Regions from separate parts of the Homo sapiens genome. Here regions 1, 2 and 4 are each linked to region 3. The links are contacts of gene promoters, found by promoter capture Hi-C in blood cells and fetal thymus (Javierre and others, 2016). All regions are on one chromosome and are shown on one strand. Each heading gives the region's core, a stretch centred on a gene start or on the middle of the fragment in contact. The rest is flanking DNA. Distances are from core to core; before and after follow the strand shown. Region 1 holds the start of LCN10 (lipocalin 10). Region 2 holds the start of RNF208 (ring finger protein 208). Region 3 holds the start of CLIC3 (chloride intracellular channel 3). Region 4 holds the start of PHPT1 (phosphohistidine phosphatase 1).

Region 1 (3,805 bases), core at 352-2,851, 250 kb before region 3:
CCTGGGACTGGCACCCCTTCAACCTGGGGCCAAGGCGGGGGCTCAGGCTGCAGACCAGGGAACCCCTCCTCCCGCCTGCCAGCCACCGAGCCCCACCCACACGTCTCGGTCCCGCCCCTGCTCCCGTGGGACCCGGGAAGGTTGGGGCCCCAGGTCCCCAGTTTTTTGCTTCACTATCCAACTCGTGTCAATCTGAGGCTCTGTGGTTTGAGGATTTTCCAATTCGGACTGGGGCCTGTCCCACGGCACGAGAGAAACTCCCAACACCCACCCGTGTGGGGCCCAGGAGCTGCAAGCGGCTTCCTCCCAACACCTACCCATGTGGGGTCCCAAGGTCTGCAGGCAGCTTCCTCCCAACACCCACCCATGTGGGGTCCCAGGGGCTGCAGGTGGCTTCCTCTGAGTTTAGGGGGAGGAAGTGGGGGGACGGTTCTTGTGGAACTTCCAGACAGACAGGCTCCTCCCAGACTCCTTTCCAGCCCCGAGGCAGCTCCCTCCTCCTGGAAGGGGAGACCCTTGCCTGGGGGGCGCTGCCCACTCACCGTCTGAAGGCGAGGAGCACGCGGAGCTGGCCCACTTTGTTCACCTTTACCACGGACGCCCCCAGCTTCCTCTTGTCCCTGGCCGGCAAGAATCCCTGGGCATCAGTGGCAGTGGCCAGAATGTACCAGAACCCTGAAAACTGCGCAGCGGATGTGTGGGCGGGGACAGGAGCTGCCACCGGGGGCTGTCCCCACCCCCGAGGTTCCCAGCTAGAGAACCCAGGAGACAAATGACCCTTCTGTGAGCCGGAGTCCCAGCTCCGCCCAGGTGCCGCCTCGGTCCCGGCCACTCAAGCCCTGGCCACTGGAGCAGGGCTGCAGAGAAGCAGGTGCCCGGCTGGTCAGGGACCCCAGGCAGCAAAGGGCTGGGCTGTGGGCGCCAGCAGGTGGGAGGCCCCCTACCTCAGAGGCCCCGGCTCCTTCCCACATGGCCTCCTGGGGGCTGGGTACTGCTCGGCCACTTCCCTTCCTGCCGGCCCCCGGCCCCCAACTCTGCCTGCTGCCAACCCTAGCGCCCTGGGCACCGCCGTGCCAATGAGTGCTGCTCCCACGGCTCACTCAGCAGGTGCCCGGGCCCTCCCGCTACAGAATATGCCCCGCTTGCTCCACACCCACTCTGCACTCTGGGCGTCTCCCGACCTCCTCGGCCACAGCTCTCTGGGCCCCTCCACCCTGGCCCTCCCTGACCCCCCTGGGCCCCCGAACCCCCTCGAGGCTCCCTGCCTTTGCCCTGCAACTTGCGGGGCCCCTGTGCTGGAGGCTGCAGTGGGAGAGGCCAGGTGGGCAGCGCCCGTGCCTGGAACTGCTGGTAGCCCTGCTCCTGGGCGGCTGCCGGGAGACTGTGCAGGAGCCTGCTCCAGCTCCAGAGCCGGCGCCCGGCTCAGGGACCAGTGGCACATGGCTCACCTTGTTCCAGTTGAGGGCGTGGGACTCCCTGGGGTACCACTCCTGCACCTGGGACCCTGCAGCCAGCACTAGCACCAGCACCAGCACCAGCGCCAGCACCAGCAGCCCCTGCCTCATCTTCACCCTCCTCCCTCAGCCGCCAAGGCCAGTGTTTAAACCTCTCTGGAGCCGCCAGCCTGTGTCGGGAGAGGAGGGAGGGGAGGGAGCGGAGGGAGGCAACAGGTGTGGCCTTGGGCTCTGCTACCCTCTCCCCGCCCAGGGACCACCCCCAGACACTCCAGGGAAGCCGGCACTGCCCCACCTGGTGGTCACTGCTGGCCTGGGCTGCCCTGGCAGACAGAGGCCCCTCTGAGGCCCCAGGACCCTCCTGCCCTCAGTGCCCGGCCTGGGGTCACTGTGTGTGCCCCTGAGACTCATTAAGCCCTGGCCCTCATCCTAGACCTCCCAGGTGACAGGCAAAGGGCTGGTCGTGGCCCTTCTGGGGCAGATGTGGACATGGTGAGCTCTGCGCGGCAGCCACACACACAGCCCCCACCACCTTCTTGAGGGCCTGGCACCAAGCACCTGAGCAGGTGCCGAAGGGCGGGCCGGGGCTGTGTGCCCGTGCCCATGAATGTGTGTGTGTGCATGTGTGGGTGTGTGCTCACATGTGCATGCGTGTGCATGCCCAGCCTTGCAGGTCAAGGCATCTGTGTGCACCTCGCCTCACTCCAGCATGAGCCTCACACAGTCCCCAGCCCCCCATCCAGCCCCGAGACCCCCATGGCCTGTGCTTCTCCCAGGACGGCAGGCAGCGCAGCCCCCCACACCCATCAGAACACAGGAGGACCTGCAGGCTCAGGTGTCTGGGGTCCCTGCCCCTGCCCAGGCAAGAGACACAACCCCAGCCCAGAGAAGCCTGAGCCTGGGGAGTCAGGGGCTGCTCTGAGCCCCACCAGCCACCTCTCTCTTGTCCTGGGCAGTCCTTGGAGCCTCTGGCACCCCAGCTGCGGTCCTGGTGGAGCTCACTGCTGGCTTCCTCCCAGGCTGTGTCCTCTGACCAGCCCCCGCCTCTGAGCCCGGGCCTGAGTTTGGGTGTCTGAAGACCCAGAGGGGCTCTGGCAAGGGACTGGGTTGGGCACGCGTCTTCTTTGCAGCTGGCTCTATGGTTCTGTGGCTTGGCCCTTGGTGACGACCCCCGCCATCCTCCCCGCAATTCCCCGGCTGGCCCCCAGTCAAAAGCATCCTTGGTTTGCTGTGGAATCGCTTTATTCTGAGCTGGTGCTGGGCCCCGGGAGCCGCTGAGCGAGGTGGGTGGACACTGGCCGAGGTCACAGGACCCTGTGGGCGCCATCCCTACTGGGGACGCAGCACTCACTGAAAACCAAGAGGAGTGTGAGGGGGCCCAGCCCACCATGGAGGCTCCTCCACACCCTCAGCTGCCTTAGAGACAGTGGAGCCATGAACCCCGTGGGCTTGGGCAGAGGGTCCTCCCACCCACTGTGCGTAGGGTGGCCTCCCCCACCCCCTTCCCCCAAGAGAGCCCAGGGTGAGGCTCAGGATGGCGGCTTACCAGAAGGATCTTGTGAGCACAGGTGACTAGAAGGGGAGGCAAGACTGGCTGTGAAAAAGGACTGAGCCCCCCAGCACCCCAGGGCCCCACCCACAAGACTCGCCTGCCGTGGGGACAAGACCCCCAGGCCTGACTTTGGGCAGGGGCAGGTGAAGACCCCCTCAGCCTGCCTGACTCCTTCAGGGCGACTGAGTCAGGCAGAAGCCAGAATCAACCCCAGGGTCTCTGTCACCCCATCACGCCCTGTGGGCTCCAGAACTTGCCCCAAGCCTCCCCCGAGGCTGCTCCGGTGGACACTCACGGTCCTTCTGCAGCTGGGCCTGCTACTGTGACAGGAAGCCCAGGCTCCTGCTCCACTTGGTGAAGAGCCCCATGGCCTCCTGGCTGGCTGTCTCCGTCAGACCTGGGGGCACCAGGGCAGTGCAGGGGGAAGCAACCTCTGAGAGCTGGGGAGGGGCCGGGGAGGGGCTGGGAAGGGTCAGGAAGGAGGCCACCTGCCCTGGGATGCTGGCCCCGGTCCTTCCAAAGCCACCTCCAGTGCAGCGAGCCTCAAGGTGGGGGAACTTGGCCTGCATGTGGTCCTGTGCGGCCCACCCACCACACAGCTCCCCACATGGCCCCCGAGCGGCCCACTCACCACACAGCTCCCCATGTGGCCCCAAGCGGCCCACTCACCACACAGCTCCCCACATGGCCCCCGAGCGGCCCACTCACCACACAGCTCCCCACGCGGCCCCCAAGCGGCCCACGCACCACACAGCTCCCAACGTGGGCCCCGAGTGGCCCACGCACCACACAGCTCCCT
Region 2 (5,904 bases), core at 2,126-4,625, 230 kb after region 3:
GGAGGAGGCCAGCCCAGCAGGAAAGTCTGTGAGCAGGACCCCATTCACCCTGCGGCAGACGGGCACCGTACTGGCCACGGGCTGACGCCGGCCACACTTCCCCTCCGAGGGCCAGCTGAGCACAGCAGGCATGAAAGCAAACAGAGATACAGCAGTGAGTCAGTTCCTTGGAGAGGGCAGGGACTCCGCCCACCCTGTGTTCAGATAAGGGCCAGTGTGTGTCCCTGAAGGTCAGGCCAGCCGGGGGAGGGGTCCATGCTGCGAAAATTCAGCCTGCAAAGGCTCCTCTCCCCACTTGATCAGGCCCAGACCAGGTGGGGGTTGGCGCTGGCCTGTGTTGCAGGGGACAAGGGCCCACCCAGGCCTTGGAACATAAGCTCTGCCCCTGCACACCCTCATGTCACCACACCTGGGATGGAGACATCAGGTGGCCCAGCGAGAGATGGAGGACTGATCCTGGAACGTGAAGCAGCTTTCAATAAACCAGCTCCTGGGGATGCCATTGTTACTACTTGTCTTTGTTACCCCATCTTCACCATCTGGGCGGGCTTTTTTTTTTTTTTTTTTTTTTTGAGACAGAGCGTCACTTAGTCACTCAGGCTAGAGTGCAGTGGCACGATCTCTGCTCACTGCAACCTCCACCTCCCGAGTTCAAGCAATTCTTTTGCCTCACCCTCCTGAATAGCTGGGATTACAGACATGCACCACCACACCTGGATAATTTTTTTTGTATTTTTAGTAGAGAAGAGGTTTCACCACGTTGGCCAGCCTGGTTTTGAACTCCTGACCTCAGGTGATCCATCCGCCTTGGCCTCCCAAAGTGCTGGGATTACAGGCGTGAGACACCGCACCCAGCCTGGGGCGGGCTCTTCCTCCCACCCAAGTGGTCCAGGTGCCAGACAGGAGGCGCTGGGTCCTTATTCCCCTACCACCATTTCAGCCAGTCTTTGTCCCTAACTCCTGCACATGCCCAAAGGCTACTCCCACACAACCCTGGAAGACCCAGGTGGGTGCTCAGGTCCAGATGGGCACCAGGAGGGAAATCAACTGAGTTGTCCCCCACACAGGCACCCCCACACCATTGAAAATGTCCTCTCTGCCCAGCTGGGGTGTCTCTGCACACCCACCAGGTAGTCCTGCCAGGCGCACACAAGCAGCCCACTCTGTACGTGTGGGGGTTTGCACCGACACAGCCCACCCGGCCCTCCTGAGCTGCATGCACAGCCCAGCCTGGCCCCCAGTGCGCAGGGCAGGCCCAACCCGAGCAGCGCTGGGCCTCTCTCTGGCAGCTCCAAGCTGGGCCCTCTCTGGGTTGCAGCCCTGGGTGCCCACCCTAGGCCCAGGCCTGAGCACAGCCCACAGGAGCAAGCTTCAGTCCAGGAACAGGTGCAAACTTTGGCAAAGAGTTTTAATGGCAAAGTTGGCTGCAGCGACAATGCCACTCGGGGTGGGGCCGGAAGCCATGGTGGGGAAGGAAGGGTCAGCGGGCGGCAGGGCAGGGCCGGGTCCCTGAAGAAGCAGCGAGCGAGGCTCAGCGGGCAGTGGCGGGCAGGCAGGCGCTACTACATGATGGAGCAGGCGGACAGTGGGTTCCGCACGTGGCAGGTGCACGCGGCCCCACAGTACTGCCGGAAGGTCTGGTAGCAGCTGCCCTCGGGCTCAGCCCCCCACTGACCCCCGGATGGGGCCGTCAGCGCCTCAGGCGGCAGGCGGCTCAGGATGGACGTGTTGACAGCCAGCGCGGCCAGGCCGTAGTCGGTGAAGAGCACAGTCTCACGGCGGCAGGTGGGGCAGGAGATGAACTTGTACTTGGGGCAGGACTCGTAGAGAATCTGCAGGCACTGCTCACACACAGAGTGCAGGCAGGACAGCACGCGGGGCCTCCGCTGGGTGACATTGTAGGAGTGCCCACAGGTGGGGCACTCCAGGGGCTCGCCTGCCGCCGCCGAAGAAGCCGCCGAGGCCGAGGGGCCAGGCCGAATCACGTACTGATTCACAATGACCTCATCCTCTGGGGCCACGCGGGGAAAGCCCAGCTCCGAGCTTCCCTTACGGGGCCGCCGTGGCAGTGGCGGGGTATGGGGTGCCCCTTCCAAGGCAGGCATGTCCCCCCCACAGGCCTGGTTGACAATGATCTCTGTGTCTGAGGGCCAGGCACGCTTGGGTGCCAGAGTTGGGGTGGGCCGGGGAGCAGGCGGGAAGCAGGGGGCAGCCGGTAGCTCAGGGAACTTTTCAGGGTGGACAATCTTCATGGCCTCCATCTTGAGGATGACATGGGGACCCTTCAGGCAGGACATGAGGAGGCCCGGCCAGCCACTGCCCGCCTCGGGCCCGGGGTCAGAGGGCATCCGGCTGTCTCCAGTCAGACTGGATGTTCGGGTGGGTGGGGGCGTTGTGTGGGGCTGGGGGGCAGGTGACAGGGCAGCATCCTGGTCCCGCCAGGCCTGGGGGGGGCCCCGGACGGCCCGTGGACTCCTAGGGACAGCCGGCGAGAGTTGGGGGTGCAGGGCCCCCCCCAGTGGCCACAGTGGCTTCTCTGGTCCAGTCCTGGGAGGAGGAGGAAGGGGTGGGGGAGGGGGAGGCAGGCGGGGGCAGGGAGGGGTGGGAGGCTGCCCTGGGCTGGGGGTCTGGCCCAGGGTCTCACCCAGGGTCTCTGGCTGCTGAGGCTGGCGAGGGGGCGCGGGGGGGGCTCCCCCTGCAGCCGAGGTCAGCAGGCCGCGGGCCGGGACATCGGGGCAGGCAGGGGCTGGGTGGGCCCCATGGCTCCAGGACAGGGCGCCCAGGGAAGGCAGCTAGCCGAAGCGCTGGCTGCAGGAGGACCGGGGCGGCAGGCTCCGCGGCAGGAGCAGAGGCGAGGCCTGGGCCAGGCCTGAGCTGCAGGTGAGAGACGGCATGAGGGCAGTGCCCCGGCCACCCCCACCCTAGCCCTCGCCCTGCACAAAGGACCGGGCGCCCGACCTCTGACCCTGACCTCAGCCGTGGGATCCCGACCTCCGCGGGCCTCAGAACCCAACCCCCTCCCCGGTCCCCGCCTCCAAGGCCAGACGCACCTTCCCGAGGGCCGACCCCCGTCGCGTGGGGAGGGGCGCTGAGTCCGCCCCCGGCCCCCGCCCCCTGCGCTCACCTGCCCCAGCCTGGCGTCCCGGCCGCGCGCCGCCGCCGCAGAGGTTGTCTCAAAGGCAGGCCCGGACGCGGCGCCCGCGCCTCGGCCCGGCAGCTCGGGGGGCTCCGGCGGCTCCGGCGGCGGCCGCAGCGACCTCAGGCGATGGCGGGGCCCGGGCGGCACCGAGGGGCGCGGGCGCGGGCGTGGGGCGCGGGGCGCGGGTTTCGGCACGGCGGCGACGGCGGCAGGTGCGTGCGGAGCGTGGCGCGCTCTGCGGCGGAGGCGCGGGGACCGCAGTGCGCGCGGCGCCCGCCCGCGCCCGCAGCGCCACCCCCCGTCTGGGGACCCGCGCGGGGTCCGCGGGGCGGGGCCAGCCTCCCGGCCGCCCCTCGGTCCGCTCCCGGCGTCGCTCTCGCCCGCGGACTGCGTGGGGGGCAGGACCCCCGCGTCGCCCCCAGTTCTCTCCAGGCTGATCCTGGGTCCTGGTCAAGCCCCCGCCCCCCCAGATTCAGGAGGAGAATCCGGCTGTTCTCCTCCCTCACAGTAGGAGGCCTCAGGACTCTGGAGTGAGAGGGAGGGGACCTGCGCGGAGGATCCCAGGGGAGCTGGTTCCAGGGCCCACCGGTGCCTTCCCCCGTCCCCGGCCCCCCGCCCCATGGGAAGGCCCCGAGTCCTCCAGCTCCGCCTGTGCCCGGTGCCGTAGCTCAGATAGATCGCTGTGACTCTAAGGGGCAAGAGCGGGGCGGGCGGAGCGGATCAGAAGGCCGAGGCCGGTGGACGGACGGGTCCGGTGGGAGTGCGCGAAGGACAGGCTGGCAGCCCAGTGCGGGGTGGAGGCGGCCCTGAGGACCGCACCTGCCCGGACAGGGTGGCCCCTGGCACTCCAGCGCGCAGGCCCGGGCCTCTCCGCTTCCTCACCCGGGGCTTCCCTGCCCTCCTGGGTCCGCCTTCTGCCTGTGGAGCCCTCGGGCTTGCTGGTCACCGTGAGGCAGGGGACCAGGGCTTCGAGGGCCTCCGCTGCCACGCTGTGACCAGCTCTGGCCCCGCACCTGGCCCTGGACATCCTGGCCTCCTTCAGCTCCTCTCTCCGCTGGACTGGCCAGACCGCACCTGCTCTAGGCAGAGCCCCAGGGCCTGCAGAGTGCTGAGCCCAGAGGGGACGGTGCCGCTGGTGCGGGAGCTCGCGTGGGCAAAACAGGCTGGAGGAGCAGCCCTGCGCATAGGGTCTGGCTTGGCCCCTCTGTGGGGCCTCGGGCGAGTGTCACTCAGAAGAGCAATAGGGAGAGGTGTGCGGGTGACAGGGGCGCTGCTGGAGGGGTCCTTACGGGGCCCTGGCAAGATGGTGGGGCAACTGAGGCAGCCTGGGCCTGGGGAGGGCCGGGAGCCCAGCTCCGCCGCAGACTCTGCTCACCGACCCGGCGTGCGCCCGAGGAAGCACCAGGCCGCAGGCCCCGCCCCCTCAGCGAGACCCCACCCCGTAGGGGATGAGATCCCGCCCCCGCCACGAGGCCCCGCCCCCCAGGCCAGGCCTTTTCAGACCCGCCATTCAGAGCTGGAGAACCCCAAGCCGAGTATTGGTCACATCCGAACCGGGTCTTTCGGGAAACCCCGGAGCGCGTGGGCTTCTGGGCAATAATATTTCCACGGCCGGTTCCTGCCTTGTTTGCGCATGCGCCATAGGCGCCACTCAAGTGGCAGGCAGGGAGGTGGGCGGGACTTCCGGCGCCTGCGCAGTGGACTTCCGTCGCCGGCCTCTCAAGTTTTGGGTCCCCAGGAGCACCCAGTTCTCCCCAAATCGGGGCCGGGTTGCCTGAACTCATGTCCCGACCGGTCTGACTGGCCCTACACAGGCCACGTCTGACTGGAACCCGCCCTTCCTGGTGCTCCCCTGGGCCCCAAGGGCCCCACTGCCGTGGGTCGTCCCCGCGGCACTCGCCAGTGCCCGCTGCACCCCTGCCTGCGCCGGTGCAGATGGAGCCTGGGTTCGGCTGGAGGCGGGGGGCCCAAGGTGGGGACGCTGGGGGGGCGCGTGTGGCCCCCACGCCCGCCAGCCAGAGGGTAACTGCAGTTTGAGAAATGAGCTAAAAATGTCAGTAGTGTCTAAAGCCCGTGTCACTGATTGTAAGATAAGACCTGTGACAAAACGTGCAAATCAAACATTTTTTATCAGTGAAAAAAGCAGAAAAGCCACTGGGCACGCTGGCTCACGCCTGGAATCCAGCACTTTGGGAGGTGGAGGCAGGCGGATCACTTCAGTCCAGGAGTTTGAGATGAGCCTAGGCAACATAGTGAGACCTACATCTCTATAAAGAATTAGCCGGCGTGGTGGTGCACCTGTAGTCCTTCCAGCTACTCAAGAGGCTGAGGTGGGAGGATCACTAGAGCCCAGGAGGTTGAGGCCGCAGTGAGCCAGATCATGCCACTGCACCCCAGCCTGGATGGCAGAGTGAGACCCTGTCTCAAAAATCGGCCGGGCGCGGTGGCTCACGCCTGTAATCCCAGCATTTTGGGAGGCCAAGGCAGGCGGATCACCTGAGGTCAGGAGTTGGAGACCAGTCTGGCCAACATGGTGAAACCCTGTTTCTACTAAAAATACAAAAAATTAGCCAGGCGTGGTGGTGGTTGCCTGTAATCCCAGCTACTCGGGAGGCTGAAGCAGGAGAATCGCTTGAACCCGGGAGGCAGAGGTTGCAGTGAGCCGAGATCGCGCAGCTGCACTCCAGCCTGGGCAACAGAGCAAGACTCCATCTCAGAAAAGAAGCAGAAAGCCTCCAAGAGCCAATGGCTCTCAAGCATCTTGG
Region 3 (6,269 bases), core at 17-2,516:
GAGGGGGTGGGACTCCATTAGACTGGGGGCAGCCCCGTCCCGGCCCCACAGTACCCCCACAGCGCCTTCCTGGGCTCTGTCTTGCGCGCGTCCTCCCTGGGCCCCCCTCTTTTCCCCTCCCACCCTGCCGGGGCTCTCACTCGGGCGGCCCCAGCGTCTCCTCCAGAAAGTCCTCGATCTGCAGCGTGTCTGTCTTGGCGTCGCTGTCATAGAGCAGGATGGGCAGCTGCGAGCCGGGGGCGAAGTCCTTCAGCACGTCCGGGGACCTGCGGGCAGCAGCGGGGTGGGAGGAGGCCGGCCCACCAGTGTGCGAGGCCAGGCGGGGGTCCACAGGATGGGGCCTCACCTGCGCGTGTCCACCGTGGTGAGGGTGAAAGGTACGCCCTTGAGGAGCAGGACCATGAAGAGCCGCTGGCAGGAGGGGCAGTGACCCACGCTCTCCCCGTCCTCACTCGCCTGGGTGGGTGGAGCGGGGGTGGGGGGTCAGGGCTGGAAGCAGACCCAGGCATCCTGCCGCCAGGCTGGGCGGGACCCGCCTCCCACTGCCAGTGGGATTGGAGGGACGCCAGGGCTCCAGCTTGGTCGGCGCGACTTCCAAGTGCCCAGTGAGGGCCCTTGACTTGGTCCCCAGAACGTGGGGAGGGGGGCAGAGCTGCTGGGAGCCTTGAGGCCTGGGGCAGGCTTGGCCCCTGGAATCTTGTCAGAGCCTGGACAGAGGCCAGGCCCCTGGGCTCAGTCCCCAAAAGCTGGTTGCAGGGGTGGGGTGGGCCTCACAAGCTGTTTTCTGAGTGATTCACACATGAGACTGGGCACTGTGGCCAACAGCACATCAGTCCCCCACCCCAGTCCCCGACCTGAGAGCTGATGGGGCTGCCTGGCCCAGCACCCCCCATCCTGGAACACCGACCGTAAGCTCCACTGTTGGCAGCCTGCTTGGTACCTCCCCACCAAGGAGCTCTCCTCCAGAAGACTGGGCTGGGCCCAGGAGCCAAGGCTGGGAGCAGGACCAGGGCCACTGACCCCTCTCTGGGTGACTCGCTGGGTCCCACTTTACTCAGCCTCTGTAGGGCTGCCTGAGTCCCCCTAGCCACCCACAGGAAGGGGCTCAGACATTACTGGGAGGCCCACCCCACAGCCTGCCACAGAAAGCAAAGCCCAGAAAAGCGCTTCCTCCCAGACACCCTCCCCGCAGCTGAGTCCGCCCTGCACCTTGACAAACAGCTGGAGCTTGGTCTCCGCCATGGTGGGAGCTGCCGCGGTCAGGCGCGGGTGGGGACCTGGGGAGCTCTTTAAGTCTCCCTGTGCGCCCCGCCCTCCCTGGCCGAGGGGCCCGCCCCGTGGAGCCACCTAGGCGGGCAGATGAAGCTGCCCAGCGCGCAGAACCAGCTGCCTGAGCAACGCCAGCCCGGCCCCGGGGTGTCTGAGCCTGAGGGTGTGACCTCAGGGTGGCGGAATGGTGTGGGGGGCTGCCCTGGACTTGAGTCTGGTGTGCACGGAGATCCGCCCACCCGGTACTGAGTGTGCTGGGAGCCAGCGTGGTGGGTGGAGACCAGGGGGCAGGGCATAGGGAGAGCCTACAGGCCAGAAGGGTGCAGGGGGTGTCACCTGGGAAGGGGGCGGCTCTGGGTCAGGACCACCTCCACCGTGAACCCAGCTCAGACCCTGCCCTATGGCTCTCCCTTCCGCAAATACCCCTTGTCAGGGCTCCCAGCCCAGAAAGCCAGTGGGTGTGGGTGAGCAGGAGAAATGGCCTGCCCAGCCTGGCTTCAGTTCCCCATCTGCAGCACCAGGGCATCGGGAGGGTGATAAGCCCACCTGGGGGAGCCGCCCCTTCCCAGCTACGGAGCAGTCAGGCAGGGCCCTCCCCGCTCAGGGCAGGGCTCAAATTCCAGACCTGCCCGCAACAGGGCGGGGAGGCCAGCCTGGCTTTGGTGTTTGGCCGGCAGTGCAGGTCTCCACCCCACCTCCCATCCCTCCCACTGGCGCTCAGCGCAGGTTTCTTACCCCCAACCCCTTAACCTTTAAAAAGAAGCAGCAGGAGAGGGGTTAGAAGCCACAGCCTGCGTGGCTGGAAGAAAGAGGCCAGGGGAGGGTGGTGGTCCACAGGTGTGAGCCTGCGCTGAGCCTCCTGGCGTGATTGGAACCCACAGTTCAGTCTGGCCCTTTGGGGTCGCCAACTGTGCCTTCCTCCCACCTGGCCCTGACGCTTTAGGGTGCAGCCCCAGGGAGGTACACCGAGGGGAGATTCCACCCAGAGACCTGGGGTGCCCACAGGATTGGCCTGGCCACACCTCCCCCAGGCGGTGTGGTGCCTCACCAGCCTGGACAGGGCAGCTGAGGTGGCACTGCTCTCCTGCTCACCTTCTCCCCAGGGCCTTGGTACGGGCCCCTCATCCGTCCCCGGTGGAACACACTCCAGTGCTGCCCCAGTCAGCCCAGCCTGATGCTTCTCTGGATACCACGCCAGTCGGGGCTCCTGGACACAGAGCCTTGGAAATACCATGTGGCTGCCCCATCCTTTGGTGTCCTGAACCTCAATTTCCCTCCATCCGGCCTCCACCTCGATTCCAAGCCCTAGTATTTCAGCTCTTTCTGGACACTGTGGTTATAGCTCCGCTTGCTGGTTTCCCACATCCCTGGCAGGCAAATGGCCAACCACAGAGAAGCCCCAGGCCCCCAGCCCCCTCTGCTGCCCCGGCATCCTGTGTCTTTAACACCGACAGACGCACCCTCACAAACCCACAGGAAAAATGACGGCACGGACAGAGGCCGTGAACCGGTGGCTCAGAAGGAAAAAGAAAACAAGACACAGGAAGACCATTCACCTCACGCCCGTCTCAAGAAACAAACCAACAAGACTCGGTTCACCGCTGCAGCGGCCCCACTGCGTTCTGTGGGCGTGGGCTGTGGACTGTGGAGCGGCAGTGGCCATCCAACACCCCCCTGTGCCCTCGCCACCTGGGAATCAGCCCGGTGGCTTCCTTTTTTTTTTATGGTTTAATCAATTCATTTATTTACTAGAAACAGGGTCCTGCCATGTTGCCCAGGCTGGTCTCCACCTCATGGGCTCAAGTGACCCACCTGCCTTGGTCTCCCACAGTGCTGGAACTACAGGCGCGAGCTGCCACACCCGGCCGGTTTCCCTGTGAAGGGCAAGTGAGTGCTGGCTGCCCCACTGCGTGGCGTGGCGTGGCGTGGCGTGGCTCCGTGGCACGGCCACCACCCTGTCTATGGGAGACTCCAGTTGTGTCCAGGGAGAAGGACGGAAAAGGTGACTCCATGCATGCCCACTGCAGGGAGGGCCTGAGATTAGGTAAATGGCGTGGCTTGTGTCCCCTTAAATTTAAATTCTTAGGCTGGAGTCCTAACCCCTAGTGCCTCAGAATGTGACCTTATATGGGCCGGGCACGGTGACTCATGCCTGTAATCCCAGCAGTCTGGGAGGCCGAGGGGGGTGGATCACCTGAGGTCAGGAGTTTGAGACCAGCCTGACCAACATGGTGAAACCCCGTCTCTACTAAAAATACAAAAATTAGCCAGGCATAGTGGCAGGCACCTGTAATCCCAGCTACTCGGGAAGCTGAGGCAGGAGAAGTGCTTGAACCCGGGAGACAGAGTTGCAGTGAGCAGAGATAGTGCCACTGCATTCCAGCCTGGGCAACAGAGCAAGACTCCATCTTGGAAAAAAAATAAAGAATGTGACCTTATGTGGAAACAGGGGCTTTTTAACATTTTTTTTGAGACAGAGTCTTGCTCTGTTGCCCAGGCTGGAATGCAGTGGTGCAATCTCGGCTCACTGCAACTTCTGCCTCCTGGGTTCAAGCAATTCTACTTTCTCAGCCTCTGGAGTAGCTGGGATTACAGGTACACGTCACCACGCTGAGCTTTTTTTTTTTTTCCTTGTATTTGTAGTAGAGACAGGGTTTCACCATGTTGATCAGGCTGGTCTCGAACTCCTGACCTCAGAAGATCTACCCACCTTGGCCTCCCAAAATGCTGGGAATACAGGTGTGAGCCACCGCACCCGGCTGAAATAGGGTCTTTATAGAAGTTATCAAGTTAAAATGTGGTGAGTAGGATGTGCCCTGATCCAATATGACTGATGTCAGTATAGAAAGGCGAGTTTGGACACAGATGCACAGGGAGGGCCGCAGGCAGAAATCAGGGTGGCACATCTGTAAGCCTGGGAGCCAAGCGGATGCTCTCCAAGGCCCTTGGGAGGAAGCAGCCCTGCCCAAGCCTAGGTGCTATGTCTGACCTCCAGACTGCTAGGCAGTGAGCTTCTGTTTTTTTTGTTTTTTTTTTTTAATGAGATGCAGTCTTGCTCTGTCGCCCAGGCTGGAGTGCAGTGGCACAATCTCGGCTCACTGCAAGTTCTGCCTCCCCAGGTTCACGCCATTCTCCTGTCTCAGCCTCCCAAGTAGCTGGGACTACAGGCGCCCGCTACCACACCTGGCTAATTTTTGTATTTTTAGTAGAGACGGGGTTTCACTGCGTTAGCCAGGATGGTCTCGATCTCCTGACCTCGTGATCCGCTCGCCTCGGCCTCCCAAAGTGCTGGGATTACAGGCGTGAGCTCCCGCGCCCCGCGGTGTTGTTGTTTTAAGATGGAGTCTCACTGTCACCCAGGCTGGAGTGCAATGGCTCAATCTCGGCTCATTGCAACCCGCGCCTCACCGGCTGAAGCGATTCTCCTGCCCCAGCCTCCCGAGTAGCTGGGATTACAGGCGCCCACCACCACGCCTGGCTAATTTTTGTATTTTTAGTAGAGACGGGGTTTCACCATGTTGGTCAGGCTGGTCTCAAACTCCTGACCTCAAGTGATCCGCCCACCTCGGCCTCCCAAAGTCAGTTTCTGTTGTTTTAAACCCCTCACTTTGTGGTCCTTTGCATGGCAGCGCCAGCAAGCTAATAAGTAAAGCAGGGAGAAGCCAGGAAATGGAAGAAAATCAGCATTAGGATCTGTCATTCTGAGTCTCTACTTGAACAGAGCTGAAAAAAGACGCAAGGAGCTGTCTGTGGGATGACCCCTGACAGGCAGAAACAGGCTTTCAGTTTTGCTTCCTGTCTGTCCACACTGTTTGCATTTTCTACCACATTTTTGTAATACCACATTTTCTACCACAATTTCATAATGTTTTGAAGTAAGAACAGTATCACAGCCACTAACCTTAACTAGACCCTGGTCCCCGAGGCCACGGGGTTATCCCTAAACCTCCCGTCCCCTGCAGCCCCTGCTCCTGATTCATAGAGCCAGCGTTAGAGGGGCCCAAGCTGAGGTCCCGAGGCTGCTGCTCTGGGACTGACTGACTGGTGGGTTAGAACTCTCTCCCTCCCCAACACCCCTCCCTGTAGGCCCCTTCCAAGGGGCTCTTTTTTTTTTTTTTTTTTTTTTTTTTTGAGACAGGGTTTCACTCTGTCACCCAGGCTGGAGTGCAATGGCGCAGTCATAGCTCACTGCAGCCTCCACCTCCTGGGCTCCAGTGATCCTCCTGCCTCCGCCTGCACAGGGCCACACCCCAGTGACATTTGAGCAGCTCTGTTCTGAAGGGAGACACACACCTGTTTGGGGGGCCGGAGGGCTGGGGGCATTGGGGTATTGGTGCAAACTTGTGCAGAGATTTATCTGCTCTGTGCATGGAGAGAGCCTAGAAGCAGTGAGACCTCGGGAGCGGTGAGACCTCGGGGGCGGCGAGACATCGGGGGCGGCGTGACCTCGGGGGCGGCGAGACCTCGGGGGCGGCGGGACCTCGGGGGCGGCGGGACCTCGGGGGCAGCGAGACCTCGGGAGCAGTGTGCAGACCAGAGCTCAGATTCTGGTCCCAAAGCCCATCTTCCCTAAAAGGAACCAGGGTTCTGCTAGGGACTGAATGTGTCCTCCCCAAAATTTGTGTGTTGAAACCCTGGCCCCTAGGCCAGGCACATGGCTCACGCCTGTAATCCCAGCACTTTGGGAGGCCGAGGTGAGTGGATCACCTGAGGTTGGGAGTTCCAGACCAGCCAGACCAAAATGGGGAAACCCTGTCTCTACTAAAAATGCAAAATTAGCCGGGCGTGGTGGCACATGCCTGTAATCCCAGCTACTCGGGAGGCTAAGGCAGGAGAATCGCTTGAACCTGGGAGGCAAAGTTTCCGGTGAGCCGAGATCACTCCATTGCACTCCAGCCTGGGTGACAAAGCGAGACTCTGTCTCAAAAAAAAAAAAAAAAACAAAACAAAACCCTGTCTCCTGCAAGGTGATGGTGTTAAGAAGTGGGGTTGGCTGGGCG
Region 4 (5,763 bases), core at 1,630-4,129, 150 kb before region 3:
CACAAGGCGCGCTGCGTGTACGGCCGCGTGGGCAGCGTGTGCCGCCACGTACTGCAGTTTTGCCGCGACAGCGGCCCGGTGCACCGCGCTTTCTCGCGCATCGCGCGTGTCGGCTTCCTGTCGCGCGGCCGCGGCGTGCTCTTCCTGGGCTTCCCAAGTCCAGGCTCGGCCGACAACTTCCTGCGCTTTGGCCTGGAGGGGCTGCTGCTATCCCCCACCTACCTATCGCTGCGTGAGCTGGCCACACACGCGGCGCCCCTGGGCAGCTACGCGCGCGAGCTGGCGGCCGCTGGGCGCCTCTACGAACCGGCAGAGTGCTTCCTGCTCAGCGTGTCCGTGGCCGTGGGACCCGGCACCGCGCCACCGGGGACACCGGCCCTGCCCGCGCCCGCGCCACGCAGCCACGGGCCAACAGTGCGCAAGTTCGCCAAGGTAGCGCTGGCGGCCGGCAGCCCCGCGCGGCCGCCCCCGGCGCGGAGCCGCGAGCCCGACATGGAGACGCTGATCCTGACGCCACCGCCGGGCACGGCGGGCCTGGATCAGGACGGCGAGGCGGGCCGGCGCGCGCGCGAGGTGGCCTTCATCCACATCCAGCGCGAGCTGCGGCTGCGCGGCGTCTTCCTGCGCCACGAGTTCCCGCGCGTCTACGAGCAGCTTTGCGAGTTCGTCGAGGCCAACAGGCGCTTCACGCCCACCACCATCTACCCCACGGACCGGCGCACCGGCCGCCCCTTCATGTGCATGATCATGGCCGCCTCCGAGCCGCGCGCGCTCGACTGGGTGGCCAGCGCCAACCTGCTGGACGACATCATGTGAGGCGCCGGGCCCACCAGGCCTAGCCCAGGCGCTGGCCCGAACCCTGCCCTGCCCACTCAGGCCCCGCCCGGCCCACCCAGGGCCGCCCCCGAGCCCCGCCAGGGCCCCACCCCGACTTCTTCTAGGCCCCGCCTCTAATTCCCCAGCCTTCCAAGCTCCGCTCAGTTCGGCCTCCAGCTCCGCCCAGGCCCCCACCCCCCGGCCCTTCGTCCCCGTAGTGTTCCTCACAGGCCCTTCGCCTTCCCACCCCCAGCAACCCCTCTCCCTCCTCCGGGCCTCCTCCCTCTCCCAGCTCGCCCTCGAGGATCCCCAGAAGAAGTCGGTCCTCGCCCTCGGTGCTCCCCGCTGGGAGGCGGGGTGGGCCTGAGGACCGCCGAGCTCTGCCTTCACTCGGAGGGGTCACTACTGCACAGACCCCACCCGTAGAGATCCGGTCCCCGTCGGTCCGCGGGGCTCTCGCTGGAGCCTCCCCGACTCCGGTTTCCCCTCGTCCAGAAGCCCGACGTAACCAAAGCCCAGTCTGTCACTTTAAACACGCCCCGCCCCGCCTCCCGCGGCTGTGTTGCCTCCTCGCTGGAGAACACCCTGGTCGACCTCTGTGCGTCCGTGTGCGCGAGCGCGTCCCGCCGAGGCGGTGGGCAGGGCGGACGGTGCGCAGTGCGTTCCCGCTGGTCGGAGCCAGCACACTAACCACGCCACGCGCCCTGCCGTCCCTTCGCCTCCAGCCGCTGCAGTCTGGGCCCTGCAGGAGCTGGGAAAAACCGCAGGGAGGTCTTCAGGCCGATATGCAAGTCTCCCAGCCGAAGGGGCAGGGGACCTGAACAGGGGAAGCAGAGCACCTGGGCCTGGCCAGAGCTGACACCTGGCTAGGAGAGGAAGGACCAAGGGACGGGGCGTTCCCAGGTGGGAGCCTGGAGGGCAAAGCGTGGTGCGAGCAGGTGAGGGAGAGAGCTAGTTGGTAAGCGTGGAAGCCCACCCGAGGGGGCTTGACCTGTCCCGAGAGGTCCCCGCACACCCGCTCTGGCCGCACGCCGTACTGCGGGCGTGGAGGCGCAAGCCCGGCGGCCCGGCCTCCACCTGTCCCCCAAGTGCACCCTGGTCCGCGCCCAGAGCTCTCTGGAGGGTGGGGTATGCGGGAGAGGGGTGGAGGCCAAACGCAAGGGCCCTCCTGGAGTCCCCAGCCCTACTTCGGAGCCAGGGGAGGGGGCACCAAGTGAGAGAAATTGGGCACCCCCGCCTCCGCTCCTGCTTTCGCACCCGGCACGCCCATCTCGTCCCCGCGCGTCTGCACCGGCCAGGCGTCCCGCTTGCCCACCCGCCGCCGCGCCCCGCGCCCCCTACCCCAGGGCCTCTGCATTCGGCCCCACCCCTGAGGGCCGGCCGGGAACGCCCCTGGACCGGAATAATTTCCAGGGGGCAAGAGCTTTCGAACCAAGTAAAATAGAACTTGAATGTAGCGGCTGCCGTTGCCTCCTTGTACCGGTAGCGGGGTTGGGGACGGAAGCCTTCGGTCGGTGGAGAGGAGAAAGGGAGAGGCCTTCGGGCGGTGGACGGGGAAGAGAGGGAGTCCTTCGGGCGGTGGAGGGGGTGGAGAGCGAGGCCTTCGGGCGGTGGAGAGCGGGGAGGGGGGAGGCCTTCGGGCGGTGGGAGGGGGAGAGAGGGAGGCCTTTGGGCGGTGGGGGCCACGGGGAGGGTGGTCTTCGGACTACGTGCGGGACAGGAGGTCAGGGCTGGCAAGTCCCTCAGGCCTCCCTCGTTGCCCCAGCCTCGCGGGCCGCCTAACTGCCCCGTTCCAAGGGTGCCACCGGACCCCGCTGGAGAGGAACTTCTCCGTTGGCTGGATTTCATCACCACCCATTCCCGATTCCACGTTTCCTTTAAGCGGGGCTGGCGGAGCCGCAAGGCGGCAAGGAACTGGATTGCGATTGGTCAGCACGTGCCTCGGTCGGCGGTACAATTGGCTGAGGCGCTGGGCCTTGGGAAGCATTCCCCGACGGGATTGGTCGTCGCTCTCGCAGAGCCCGCCTCCCGCAGTACAAGCGGCCCCCGGGTCGGGTGGGAGGAGGGGACTCCGGGAGGAGGAACATGGCGGTGGCGGACCTCGCTCTCATTCCTGATGTGGACATCGACTCCGACGGCGTCTTCAAGTATGTGCTGATCCGAGTCCACTCGGCTCCCCGCTCCGGGGCTCCGGCTGCAGAGAGCAAGGAGATCGTGCGCGGCTACAAGTGGGCTGAGTACCATGGTGAGGGCGGGACCTGCGGGCATGCCAGGGGCACGCCTGGCGAGGCGGGGGCGGGGCTGGCGGGACGGAGACGGGGCTGACGAGGCAGGGGCGGGGCTGGCGGGGCGGGGGCGGGGCTGCGGGCCGTAGCGGACTGCGCTCTGCTCCGAGTCCTGCCCCTGCTAGGTTTGACCCAGGCTGAGGTCCTGGGCGGGAAGGGCGTGACACGGCCTGACACCCTCCCCAGCAGTCTCCCAGTTCCCGCGCCCTCCCCGGTTCCACCCTCCTTCGCTCATTCATCCCTGTCCCAGCCTCAAGGGGCTTCGTCTCTCCTGGGGAAGGGGCTGTTCAGAGCTGGGATTTCAGACCCCTTCGGCTGGGAGTTCCTCCCGCGGCCTCCAAGGGCGGCCAGGGCACGTCCTGAGGCCGCCCTCCCATCCCAGCGGACATCTACGACAAAGTGTCGGGCGACATGCAGAAGCAAGGCTGCGACTGTGAGTGTCTGGGCGGCGGGCGCATCTCCCACCAGAGTCAGGACAAGAAGATTCACGTGTACGGCTATTCCATGGTGAGCCGCAGCCCCGTCCCGCCCTGCCGGAGGCCCCAGTACCAGCTTCGAGGCCCACCTGAGCCTGCTGCCCTGACCCGTGGCCCCAGCTGAGCACGCAGGCTTCCTGGGGTTCTCCCAGGGTCGGCGGCAGAGCCCTCCCTCCAGGGCCCATTGTGTTCCTGCATTCCCCCATGGAGCACACGCCAGACCTGAGGGGTGGGACGGACACCCCCAGACATGGCCGGCTGTCTCCTCTCCCTGCCTTGGGAGGCCTTGCTGGGCTCTAGCTGTCCTCCAGCACTTTGGGCCCTGGGCCCCCAGAGGCAGTCAGTACCTGGGTGGAGCTCAGAGTCCCCACCTGTGCTCTTCACAAAAACCACCAGCAGATGAGACCCACGTGCGTCCCTCTGGGCGCCTCAGGCCCCAGGATCCACCATCAAGGTTTGCTTGCCTGTGGAGGTCGCCTCTCCCCAGGGGAGCCCCCAAGGGCGGTCGGGATGGTGGGTTTGGCATCCCCAGGCACTGCCTATCCCTTTCCCACACTCGCTTCTGGTGTGGCTGGTGGCTGGATGCCCAGAGCCGGGTATCGGGTTGAAGGGTCCAGGTAGTGCCAGCAGGCGTCTTCTCTTCTCCAGGCCTATGGTCCTGCCCAGCACGCCATTTCAACTGAGAAAATCAAAGCCAAGTACCCCGACTACGAGGTCACCTGGGCTAACGACGGCTACTGAGCACTCCCAGCCCGGGGCCTGCTGCCTCCAGCAGCCACTTCAGAGCCCCCGCCTTTGCCTGCACTCCTCTTGCAGGGCTGGCCCTGCCTGCTCCTGCGGCAGCCTCTGGTGACGTGCTGTCCACCAGGCCTTGGAGACAGGCTAGCCTGGCCACAGAATTAAACGTGTTGCCACACCTGCCGGCTTCTGAACTCTGTCCTTGGCTTCCTGCACCCTGCGTCACCACCTCCGGGGGCCCCCAGACCCTAACTAAAGCAGGTGGGTGGGGGAACACAGGAGTGGCCCCAGGGAGTGGCGGTGCACACTCAGCCCTTTGGGGTCTGATAAAGGGGCCCGCTGATGGCCTGACTGCTCTTCCCACGGCCATCGTCCTCCAGGGCATCTTGGAGGAGGTCTGGCAAGCCCTTGCGAGAGGAGTCAGGGCCTGGTCCCTCGGGCTGGCCAAGACCTGGGGCGCCCACCAGTGCTCCCTCCTATGAGCCCATCCCAGGGCTCCCCAGTGTCCTGTCTGCCCTGAGGCTCCTTCCGTGACCTGCAGGCTCCTTCCATGACCAGCCCCATGGGGCCTACCAGTATCCAGGGTCAGGTCGCACAGCTGCATCTACCCCACAGGCTCACGTTGACTCTGGAGGCCCCTCCCAGGTCCCTCTTGCACCCGGCAGGGCTGTGGGCAGGACACGGGTTCAGGCCTTGCCCTGGGAAGCCCCATACACAGTGGGACTCCATGGGGTGGTGCAGGGGCACCCTGGGGGCCAGGGCTGGTTGTACACAGGGCACCCCCACCTTTGTCAGCTCACTGGTCCTCCGGCCAGCCTCTCCAGACGGGCACTGTCATAACCACATTTTACAGACCGGGACACTGAGGCTCAGTGACACAAGCTCCGAGGTCACACCATGGGAAATCACAAACAGGGCCTGGCCCCAAATGCCACACTCCTTCCCCAGCCCCAAAGACCCTGCCCCAAGCATGAGTCTGCTCCATGAGAAACCGAAGTTTCTGGGCTCCTAGGGACCCTGTATCTGGCACCGGACAGCACCTGGCTGCTCAGGACGAATGAATGACGGCGTGATCCTCCACAGCCTGACTTAAAGGCAGGTTCCCCACGGCTGAGAACGCAGGGACCAGCTCTGGTGCACGTGCTGGACTCCTGCAGCTGCTGGACTGGTTGAGTCCTGACCTTGGCCAGCACCACGCTATTGCCAGAGGCACAGTGAGAGGCCACGGCGGCCTCTGCCCGCCCCACACTGCCGAGCAGAGTCCTGGTGGGGTGCCTGGGTCCCTCCCCATTCCAGTGGGAGCCTCCCCTTCACCAGGCAGGGCAGGGCAGGGTGGAAGAGCCTGACCTTGTGTCTGAGGGAGCCGGGCAGGTGGGAGCTGACCCTGGGTCAGAGGCCCCCTCCTGGGGCCACTTTCACGGCCCATGCTTGGCACCGTCAGCACTGGG

What was found. The method cuts DNA at HindIII sites, captures the fragments that hold promoters and counts their contacts. A CHiCAGO score of 5 or more calls a contact.
Region 1: the fragment with the promoter of LCN10 here is called in contact with the fragment with the promoter of CLIC3 in region 3 in 2 of 17 cell types (endothelial precursors and M0 macrophages); the score reaches 5.9 in endothelial precursors.
Region 2: the fragment with the promoter of RNF208 here is called in contact with the fragment with the promoter of CLIC3 in region 3 in 1 of 17 cell types (M0 macrophages); the score reaches 5.8 in M0 macrophages.
Region 4: a contact is called between the fragment with the promoter of PHPT1 here and the fragment with the promoter of CLIC3 in region 3, in 7 of 17 cell types (M0 macrophages, endothelial precursors, total CD4 T cells and 4 more). The highest score is 7.7, in M0 macrophages.

What each region holds. Positions count from the first base shown.
Region 1 is chr9:136,741,339-136,745,143 of GRCh38, forward strand. LCN10 (lipocalin 10) reads right to left here and starts at 1,602. Exons shown (of 6, transcript NM_001001712.3): 1 at 1,449-1,602; 2 at 543-682; 3 at 1-23. The coding sequence starts at 1,565. It overlaps LCN6 (lipocalin 6), which reads right to left. Exons shown (of 7, transcript NM_198946.3): 5 at 3,302-3,403; 6 at 3,001-3,026; 7 at 2,679-2,804. The coding sequence ends at 3,324. RefSeq lists a silencer at 1,007-1,106. The HindIII fragment of the contact is 7,084 bases long and covers 1-3,805 here.
Region 2 is chr9:137,218,865-137,224,768 of GRCh38, forward strand. RNF208 (ring finger protein 208) reads right to left here and starts at 3,376. Exons shown (of 2, transcript NM_031297.7): 1 at 3,125-3,376; 2 at 1,395-2,874. The coding sequence starts at 2,348. The coding sequence ends at 1,563. NDOR1 (NADPH dependent diflavin oxidoreductase 1) reads left to right here. Exons shown (of 14, transcript NM_014434.4): 14 at 1-497. It overlaps LOC122513141 (ring finger protein-like), which reads left to right. Exons shown (of 1, transcript NM_001395982.1): 1 at 1-497. RefSeq lists an enhancer at 1-560 and silencers at 2,929-2,978, 3,919-3,968, 4,279-4,628. The HindIII fragment of the contact is 9,789 bases long and covers 1,368-5,904 here.
Region 3 is chr9:136,995,302-137,001,570 of GRCh38, forward strand. CLIC3 (chloride intracellular channel 3) reads right to left here and starts at 1,267. Exons shown (of 6, transcript NM_004669.3): 1 at 1,210-1,267; 2 at 347-456; 3 at 141-266. The coding sequence starts at 1,242. RefSeq lists an enhancer at 4,865-4,984. The HindIII fragment of the contact is 14,896 bases long and covers 1-6,269 here.
Region 4 is chr9:136,846,530-136,852,292 of GRCh38, forward strand. It overlaps PHPT1 (phosphohistidine phosphatase 1), which reads left to right and starts at 2,880. Exons shown (of 3, transcript NM_014172.6): 1 at 2,880-3,061; 2 at 3,484-3,608; 3 at 4,226-4,495. The coding sequence starts at 2,902. The coding sequence ends at 4,318. It overlaps AJM1 (apical junction component 1 homolog), which reads left to right. Exons shown (of 3, transcript NM_001080482.5): 3 at 1-2,272. The coding sequence ends at 816. RefSeq lists silencers at 1,822-2,051, 2,272-2,331, 2,412-2,491, 2,672-2,731, 3,122-3,201 and 1 more and an enhancer at 2,852-3,131. The HindIII fragment of the contact is 15,345 bases long and covers 1-5,763 here.